Linked DNA regions of Homo sapiens: region 2 is linked to region 1. Evidence: promoter capture Hi-C in 16 types of primary human blood cells and fetal thymus (Javierre and others, 2016). All regions are on one chromosome and are shown on one strand. The core of a region is centred on a gene start or on the middle of the fragment in contact, and the rest is flanking DNA. Distances in the headings are between cores, read along the strand shown. Region 1 holds the start of SEC62 (SEC62 preprotein translocation factor). Region 2 overlaps LRRC31 (leucine rich repeat containing 31).

The links. Contacts are between HindIII fragments. The CHiCAGO score rates a contact against its expected background, and 5 or more counts as called.
Region 2: a fragment that was not itself captured here is called in contact with the fragment with the promoter of SEC62 in region 1 in 2 of 17 cell types (total B cells and naive B cells); the score reaches 11.6 in total B cells.

The regions. Positions count from the first base shown.
Region 1 is chr3:169,964,462-169,969,598 of GRCh38, reverse strand. SEC62 (SEC62 preprotein translocation factor) reads right to left here and starts at 2,792. Exons shown (of 8, transcript NM_003262.4): 1 at 2,741-2,792. The coding sequence starts at 2,776. It also overlaps the pseudogene FHL1P1. RefSeq lists enhancers at 585-1,117, 2,674-3,113. The HindIII fragment of the contact is 8,040 bases long and covers 2,132-5,137 here.
Region 2 is chr3:169,853,031-169,858,167 of GRCh38, reverse strand. LRRC31 (leucine rich repeat containing 31) reads left to right here. Exons shown (of 9, transcript NM_024727.4): 4 at 1,296-1,463; 5 at 1,665-1,832; 6 at 3,188-3,355. Among named protein-coding and RNA genes, the nearest start is that of LRRC31, 14 kb to the left of the region's middle. The HindIII fragment of the contact is 4,049 bases long and covers 669-4,717 here.

The DNA of each region.
Region 1 (5,137 bases), core at 1,543-4,042:
GAAAAACGAGGGTGTTGGGTGAGATCAGTCAGCTGTAGGATCACCACTCTGCTTTCATGTTAAGACTGAATTTATGAAAAAGGCTTCCAAACAAACCCTACTAGATCCTTTTAAACTCTAAAATTTCTTGATACCAGGATTGTAAATCAACTTCTACTATGCAGCAGCACATTGTTAATCTATATGTAGTTACTGTATGAGTACATGTAGCTCACTTCTGGTTTTCAGTGACCAGTAATGAGTCCAAGAAGGAAATGTGACAACAGTCCTCTTGCTAGAAACTTCGATGGGACACGAGAATCTGAAATTATACTGAATTACAAAGAAAAAGCAAATTAGCTACTTTTTTTTTTAACCCTGAACTTATTTGTTTGTATCAAACATTTCTCCCCAATGTGCAAAGTATAATTAAAGATCACTGAATCTATTAACCATCTTTCTAAACATAAAACATCAAGCAACAAATGACAGAAACTCAGTTGGTATTACAGACCTTTTGCCTAAAAATTCTACAACAGGATCTTTTTTGTAAGTTAAACTCTGAACTTTTCATTACATTTGATCTTTTTATCACAAGTGATGTATTATAGTTTCTGATTATCTGGAATGATAAAACTGAGGTACTTTCTAGGCTAGTATATTTTCATAAGTGTGTTAGGCTGCATGAAAGTAGTACTCTAAGATCTCTCACAAACATTTTATACAGCCATGTAGAAAATTTCAAGGACAGAAAAATAAATGTCACTTAATTTTGCAGTATGCCCAGTAGATTTTAATAATCAATCCTCAAATAATAGAAAGTAAACAGCTATACTCTACATAACTCCCAACCTAATAGTTTACTGAATAGAGGGTTGTTAATCTTTCTTCAGCATATCAAAGAGTAGTTAACAAAAAATAAAATAACAATCCAATCTAAATCCTTCATCCTGGGTAAGGAGTAGAATAGAAGGGAGGGGCTGCGTGCCAAACACTTTTAATAACTTTTAATAAATAAGTTGACTCACCTATTATTTTCACAGCAATCTTAAAGTTTTTCTTTTTTCTTGCTTTTTTTTTTTTTGAGGTAAATATGTTTTCTTACCGATGCAGACAGGGAGGTAAAAATTAACTTGCTCAAAGTTACTCAGCCAATAATTGGTGGAGGTGGGGTACAAACAGGCAGTTTGGCTCAAGTTTTAGCTCTCTGCCACTGTCACATTACTCCACAGCCTCTGTTTAATATAAGATCACAACTAAATAAGAGCAGCTATTCAAAAGGTGAATTATATAGCCCTTACAACAATATTAAAGAGCAACTGGAATTGTAAAACAATGTGTATTGAAGGGCATAAAATTGTACTGTCAAGTGTAAATCTAAGGAGTTCTGTAAGTACAAATCTGACAGACAATTTCAATATACAATCTAATAAAATACTGTATACCCACGTCAGAGGAATAACACTAACTCTTGAAAGATTAAGAACAGTATAATTAGAAACTTCTACTGATCTTAAGACCTAGTCTTATCTGTCTGAACTCGAAATCTGCCTCTTTCTAATTCCCTTCTGCACCCTGTTCGGAACTACTTTATTTCTGCCAAATTCCAAAATTCCAAATTTACTGATCATGTGTGTCTTTTTCACAGCACTTAAAAAGTTTACAGAAGAATTTTAACTTGCATAGCTCAAAACATCTGTATTGTACGCCAATAAATCGATAAACTTAAAAAAAAAAAGAAGGGATAAAATGGAAGAAAGAAAAAATCATTCTAAGCAATGAAATAGTAAGGAACAGAAAGGCAATGATGAATGTAACAATTTATGATTATAGTAACAATTTACTACATGTGATCAATTTGAGGGCTTATGAAGGTTTCTCAGCACATCAGCTGATGAGACGACTAATAAATATCCTGAGTCCAAGATGTTCTACATAATTAATCCTCTTGGCAAAGAACAAGAACCAGGGAAAATCGCAAGGAAGAAATGCACAAATGACACGCATGTGGAATTAGGGGGAGATGTTATGTACGTTACTACGAGGATGACACACTGGCATGTGAAAGGTTTCTGGGCTCCACCAGCTCGTTGCAGCACCAACGAGGTTGTGGTTGTTTACACCACGTCGCCCGGAAAAAAGCCGGCAAGCTTCAAGTGGACTATTAAGTTAATAATATTGAAGGGAAAGAAGGGCAACGCAACTGAACATCTGGATGAGCAGATCCCTGCCTAGGCCCCGAGGCAGCTGACCAAGTCCAGATCATTCCCCCTTACGGTCTATGCGCACAAAGAACCAGCTGCTTTAGGTCAGTCCGCCGCCTCCTGCTACCCCTATTACCGTGGCCTTAATTTCAGGCCAGCTAAGGCCAGAGGATGGGGTGAAGGGAGGGGAGGAGCCCCGGGAAGGGTCAGCGTCTGCGCCCCAGGGGAGGCTGACCTTCCAGCTCAGGCCCGGGACAGCGCGACCACAGGAACTCCAGGCCCACAGCCGCGCCTCCGCAGCCGGATTCTGAGCGCGGCGCCTCCTTCCTTCCCCTGCTGCTCCACCACCACCTCCGTCTCTGTCTCCGCCGTCGCCAACACCGCCCCCCCTCAGGCCCCTCACAACGCGCAGCCTGCAGCCAGCTGCCTCGCGGCGGAACCCCACCCCACCCCACCCCACCTCGCCCTTGCTTTCGCTCGCCCTTTTAGGGGGCTTTCCCCGCCCCTTCCACTATCCAGCGCGCCGAAGCCCCCTGCCCAGAGCTCGGCTTTGCTACCTGGATCCGCTTCTTGTGTCTCCTGCGTTCCGCCATGTTGGCCGCTCCGCCCGGTTCCCTCTGACGTGGAGCGAGGAGGGGGCGGTGGAAACCTCGCGAGAACGCGCCCCGAGGCCCGTTATGTAATCCGCCGGCTGGCGCCCCTGGAATGGGGAGGTCGGCCGCCTGGCGGGGCCAGCGGTCCTTAGCGGTGCCTTCTCTCCCCTCTTCCCTCCGCTCCTGCTGTGCGGGAACTGGAGAATCGTTAGGACGTGGAGGAAGCAGAGAAGTGGATCAGAGAACAGGAGGGCTGGGAAGAGTCCTGGTTTCTCAATCCTGACTGAGCATCTGAATCACCTGAGAAGCTACTAAAATGCAGATTCCCCGACCCCATCCCCTTAGAGTCAGAGTCTGTGCATTTAGGGTGCGGCCTTTCTCAGAGGGATCGACTGAGACCTACTGAACCCTAGAAGTCTTTACCTGAGGCAGTTCCTGCAATGTACTGTATATTTCATGACATTCCATGTAAAAGATGACAAGACCGAGACCGTTGAGTGACAGAGATAAGAACTGACTTATCTAAGGCTCCACAGGTGGTAGATGGCAGAGCCGAGACCTGAGCCAATTATCTTTTCTCCTGCACTGTGCGGGGTAATACAGCTCGTTTAAAACAAGCTGGAGTCTCCATTCCGTTTTCCGCGTTGCTTCTCACAACTCACTGTTAGAATCCAGAAGTAAGAGAACCCGGGGAAGCGTAAGGAAGATGAATAGGACAAAGATTCTAAGAAGGTGGGAAGGAAGAAGGCTGCAGTCTATTTCAAGTCTGGTGAATTTCAATCACTGTAGCCTTTATTGTTATTTTAGAGCCACCTAGACCAAAAGAGAAGGAGCTCAAATTGCTGGTAAGTGCTTAGATAGAAATTCCCTTGACTGACTTTATAGAGATCTTTAAAGCGTTTTTAATTGTAGAAAATTGGGAAAATTCAGAATAGAAAGATGTTCTTTTTTTTTTGATGCTGAGTTTCGCTCTATATTGCCCAAGCTGGAGTGCAGTGGCGCAGTCTCGGCTCACTGCATCACCGAACTCCTCGTCTCAACTGATCTCCCTCCTCAGCCTCCTGAGTAGCTGGAACTACAGGCATGAGCCACCACACCTGGCTAATTTTTACTTTTTTTGTGTGGAGATGGAGTTTCCTTATGTTGCCCGGGCGGGTCTTGAACTCCTGGGCTCAAAACGATCCACCTGTCTCTGTCTCCTGAGTAACTGGAACTACAGGCGTGAGCCACTGTGACCGTTCAGTTTATTTTCTTATAGTATTCTGACTTTGTGTGTGTGTGTGCATGTGTGTTTGTATTTATATTTTTTCCTGTTTCCCAAATTGAGATCATATGCAATAAGGCAGCTGCTTTTTTCACTTAATGTTAGGTTGTAAGCGTTTATTATACCATTAAAATTTTTTTCCAGGTTTCCCATATTATATATCTAACCTAAGAGCAATTAAATATGTAAGTAAGGCAAATTGCAGCATCTTGATGCCTAATTTTTTAATAAAGTAAGATTGCTGAATTTTTTTTTTTTTTTTGGACTATGCAGTTCTGGTCTCAGGAGTCATTTAATTCCTTTCTCCTCTATAATCTATAATTTGGGTGTGTGTATAGTCAGGGATGGGGTGAGAAAGAAGTAATTATTCTTGCCAATTAACCCAAAACATAATATAGAATATGAAATGTCTTTATTTCCTTCAATCCCTCTACCCACCCAGAATGATGAATCTGTTTTGTGCTGTTTTATGTGGACATAAACACTGGACTATTTTATAGGAGACCTGGTCTATAAATGAAAATATTATTGCATTCAGTAGGTATTGAGTGCCTACTAGATAGATGTCAAATGTTAGGTTAGGACTATGGTGGGGAATAAAAATCCTTTATAGACAATGACTCATCCTCAAGTTACTGCCTTACTATTTTCTTCATCAGCAGAGCTTTAATTTAGTGTCCTCTTGTTCTGTCATTCACTCCTTAGATTACAACAATTTGGTTTCTACCTCCACCATCCAGTAACAATTATTTTGTCAAACCCAATACCTTCTCTCAGCTGGCATCTTACTCAGTATTTGACAATATTGACTGTTCTTCTTGACTTCTTTTCCTTCTTTGGCATGTATATCAACTTCTTTCTGATTTCTCGTTGACTTCTCTCCTTTTACCCAATTCTCACATGTTCCTGGCCACCGTTTTTATATGTTCACCTTCCTCTTGTCTCTTCTATTTGTGCATTCTGTTTACAGATTAATTCCAAAATACTGCATTCATGTTTAATTCCAGATTTCTTCTGGATGTTTCCACTGGATGTCCAACTAAAAATCACCATTTCCCCAGCAAAACCTGCCCCTTTTACTGTAAAAATCTAATAAC
Region 2 (5,137 bases), core at 1,444-3,943, 110 kb after region 1:
ATCTTCTTCACTCAACCTTAATGCAGATGGGGTATAGGGAAAATAAATGGTTTCTTGATAAGAGAACATAAATCAGAAGGCATTTCAAAATTGTTACACCCATTATAATAGTTTAGTACCGAGTGGCAAATGCATGGCACTCCAGTACCATGACCACTGCAGACATAACTAATCAATCATGAGCTCTTTCTCCCTGAGCCTGGGGAACACCTCAGGGCTATAGAAAGTCACCCCCAATTGACTGGTAATAGCACAAAAAATGATGCCTGTTCATTGCTGGCTTAAGATGCTATAACTCCTGGGGAATACGCATTTTAGCATGGGGTTCCTGGACTTCTAAAACCTTAATCCATGGAATGAATAAACCATGGTAGAAGTTCAAACCCAGGGACAGGTAGTAAAGAGGGTTCTAGATACAGGGGACTTGCCAGAATGCTTAATTGTTTGCACATTGAGAAAGTACATTTTCCATGTATGTGTCTACCCGCAAGGCAGTGAAAATCATTCCTAAGGACAGATCTGTTTGGTCACTTCTCCTATTCTCTCCCAGCCTCCACTCTGCAGCCCTGGGAGCTTTCCAGTGTGTAATGGTTTCAGAAATGTTAGTTTTCATCCCTGTGTCACTGCACCCTCCTTTACCCCTTAAGGCAGCACGGCTGTTATAAGCTTCTAGTGCCTGATGCTCTATTATTAGTTTCTCTCTGTAGTGGTCAGTTCAGGTTGCATGTGATATTCCTCATATATATATATATGTATATGTATATGTGTGTGTATGTATATATGTGTATATATATACTTGTGTGTGTGTGTGTGTGTGTGTGTATATATATATATATATATATATATATAGGCATGTGATATTCTTGACATTGGAGAGAGCTTTACCTCTGTGGTGGCCAGTTATCTGCTTTGCCTCACTTCTATCCCTGGTCAAACTTCTCAGAAATGCTGATCCCAGAGAGAGGGGCTAAGGGAAAGCAGATGAACCACCACAAAAGCAGCTTCCTAAAACCACCCTACCAATAGGTGGATTTTTCTACAACAACAATTGTTTAGCTCATACGCATGGCTTCAGAATTTTGGAGGGATTAGAATGACTGTGCCTGTAAATCTAGAGAAGCACGCCCTGCTATGAAGGAATTGGGTTCTTTCCTTCTCTCTGTTCCTCGGTGCCAAACAGGACAGTACCTGGCCCAGTTTCCACACTCCATTAATCATGGTTGTGCTGATTCTGAAATGAATTCCCTGCTTTTCTGACTAGTGACCAACAGAATTTTCGGGCCATTTGTTAACAGGAGAAGCATTTGAGATGATTCCTGAACTTGAAGAGCTAAATTTGTCTTGGAACAGTAAAGTGGGAGGAAATTTGCCTCTGATCCTTCAGAAGTTCCAAAAAGGGAGCAAGATACAAATGATTGAGCTTGTGGATTGCTCCCTCACGTCAGAAGATGGGACATTTCTGGGTAAGTGGAATTTGAAGAGAAAAAAAAAAAGTGAAGATGCCCACTGGATAGCTTGGGAAGTTTGCTGTGTTTTGTCTTATTCTGAATTTAAAGAAGGGTATGTAGGAGGGGAGTGGAGTTTTACGTCACGATATCCCCAGGTGATGTAAAACTCCACTCCCCTCCTACCTACCCTTCTTATTTGGATTTCTTTCCTTCTAGGTCAACTGCTACCTATGCTGCAAAGTCTCGAAGTACTTGATCTTTCCATTAACAGAGACATTGTTGGCAGTCTGAACAGTATTGCTCAGGGATTAAAAAGCACCTCAAATCTGAAAGTACTGAAGTTACATTCATGTGGATTATCACAAAAGAGTGTCAAAATATTGGGTGAGTTAACAATGGCTGGATTTAAGATTACATGTATAATTATATATGATATACATATAAATATATATATTGAAAAGTTACTAGGAAATATAGCAAAATATAAACAGTGGTTGTGCTGGGGAATAAGATTATGGGTAATTGAAATCTCCTTTAGGCTGGGCACAGTGGCTTACATCTGCAATCCCAGCACTTTGGGAGGCTGAGGCAGGCGGATCACTTGAGATCAGGAGTTTGAGACCAGCCTGGCCAACATGGTGAAACCCCATCTCTACTAAAAATACAAAAATTAGTTGGGCGTGGTGGTACGTGCGCCTGTAATCCCAGCTACTTGGGAGGCTGAGGCAGGAGAAATTGCTTGAACTCAGGAGGTGAGGTTGCAGCGAGCCGATGTGGGTGACAGAAGAGACTCCATCTCAAAAATATATACATATTTTATATTTTATTTATTTTCTAAATATTTTATAGAGAACATACACTTTCATGATTATAAAAATAAGCCTTTAGTATGACTGACTCTGAAAAGGCCAGTATATTTTAGGTTAAGATAAACACTGGGAAAAATAAAGTTTCTTTGCTGCTAGAACTACTAGGTTTTCTCTTTTGAAAGTGTCAGCATTATTTTATGCTCAGTAGTAGGAAGGAATAGGTACTGATAAAAAGAACGGCTTCGATGGCGTCCACAGTTAAAACTTACTCCTCTGTATATAGTATCCATATTAACAGAGAATAGGAAATGATATTGTGTTTCCCCTTCAACTTACAGAACCTGTAATATTCACTGGCAGCTTGAATAAGTCTAAAAATCTATGTAAACTCCAATGCTCAAGTGTAATAGGAGAGGATGCTCAAGTGTAGTTGCAGGATTCATGTCAAAACCCTTGGCAATGTATGCAGATCTTAGGAAGCGTGTGTGTGAAATCATGGTCGGGTTCACAGAAGGCCAGATGGTAGGAAGTCTACACTTATTCCTCCTTTTGTCTTTTGTGAACACAGTGTGTTCCCTCAACCTCCCTTACTGCACCATGGCCCCACCCCTGTTCCACACCTTCTTACCACCTTGCGATATGTCAGAATGGTAGCAGAGATGGGGTTTCACCATCTTGGCCAGGCTGGTCTTGAACTCCTGACCCTGTGATCCACCCTCTCAGCCTCCCAAAGTCCTAGGATTACAGATGGGAGTCATCACGCCCAGCCCGGTTTTTCTTTTTTTAAGAGATGGATCTCACTATGCTGCCCAAGCTGGACTCGAACTCCGGGGCTCAAGCAATCCTCCTGCCTTGGTCTCCCTAGCAGCTGGGACTATAGGTACACCACTGTGTCCAGCTACCAGAATGGGATTCTGACTTTCTTTGTAGATGCTGCTTTTAGGTATTTGGGTGAGCTGAGGAAATTAGATCTTTCCTGCAATAAGGATCTAGGTGGAGGTTTTGAAGACTCGCCGGCTCAGTTGGTCATGCTAAAGCATCTACAAGTCCTAGATCTTCACCAGTGCTCACTAACAGCAGATGACGTGATGTCACTGAGTAAGTATATATTGCAGAGCAAAGGAAAGACTTTTGGAATCTTGGCCTATATTTGGAAACTTGGAAATTTTAATATGTACACTTAAATTTACTTCTTTTGAAGTTATTGGAAAGATCAATTCATAACAGTTCTGTGAGTGCCCCAATGTAGTACTTGGCATGTATTAAACGCCCAGTAAATGTTAGTGAATCTCAGTTCCACCCATACATGTCTGCAAATGATAGATTTGGCACTTAGGGAAAATTTTGAATTTATGTTGCTGTTTAGAAATAAATCTCTTAGTGTCACAAAGTTGATTACAAACAGGTTACATACCTGTAACCAAACGTCAACACAAAGGGTATCGAGGCTTTCTGAATAACAAGTGAAGTGAAGCCACTCAGATACAAATGAAGTTACAGAAAAAGAGTCAGCAGGGTGGCGCGTGATGGCTGTACGTTACTGCTTTGGGCAACTACACTTATTTTCCTACTGCAAACATAGTTCTGTAATTACAACATGTAATATATAAATGCAATTTCCCATAACAGAGCAAGCGTAGCCTTGAGATTAAGGGTTTTATCCCACCTGTGGCCACAATAAGCCTTCAATGTACATCCAGCATCTGACCATGGCTCACCATCTAGACCTCCACTACCCTGGTCCAGGCCACGGTTATCTCATGCTTAGATTATTGCAAGAGCCCAAATGGTCTCCCTGTCCTCTAACACTCTGACTTCATTCACTCCCCCTCCTCCTCACAGACTCCACCCTGGCCACTGCCCTTGCTGATTCTCAGACACGCCAGGCATGCTCTGGCCTTGGGCCCTTTGCCCATGCTCTCTCTCCCCAGGTCATGGGCAATTCCAGGCTAGAGGTGTCTCGTTTGGCATCTCCCCACTGCTCAAGCACAGGCACCTGCACATGGTTGGCACCAAGTAAATGCATGTTGAATATGTGAATGAATGAATGAATGAGTGTACAATGAGAATAAAAGTAAGTTTCTGGTTGTTTATAGTACAATTTGGGGAGGAAGACCGTAAAATATGTTTCTAGGTCTAATACATCTATCTTTTTAAACCTGCTAAATTATCTTTCAGACTCTTATCTCTCAATTTGGGAAAATGGGAAGAATTCAAGACTTTCATGAAGATTTTAAAATGACAAAATAATCCCTTTTTGAGCTTTGCGTGGAGCATTATGGGTTCCTACCATCCCCTTTACTTATCATAGCCTGAGCGTCATACCTAGGAAGACATTCAGAGTTATTAGCCCACCAGATTCCCTTGGTACAACTAAATAACATGAATACCACATCTCATTTTGCTCCTCAGTGCTGGAGAACCTCAATTGTTCCCACTAGTATAACGGAGGACTAAGCTTTCCTTACCTAGGTTCACAGCCACTGACATGGGTGAATGGCCCTGGAAAACTAATAATTATTTGATAACTGTAATGAATTGCATTGCTTTCCTTCTGCTTAATTCTGAAAAGATGGAAATGAAAATACATCCTGCTTTGTACTTTACGCTGTTAAATAATTGAACATTCTTTTATCCGATCATTGTAAATTGCTCCAAAGAAATGGAATTATAGATCCTTTAAGCAATAACTACTGATGAATCCTCTAATGGTGTGGGGCACCGTGCCAGGGGCTACAGAAAATCCCAACTCTCAGGGAGCTTCGGTATGGCAAGGGCAGGAGTAAACCGATGCATACCCAAACTACATGGTGAAATACAAAGTGCTGAGGGGGTTGGAAGAGGGAGAAATAGTTACACCTGTTGACTTTACAAGTGCCC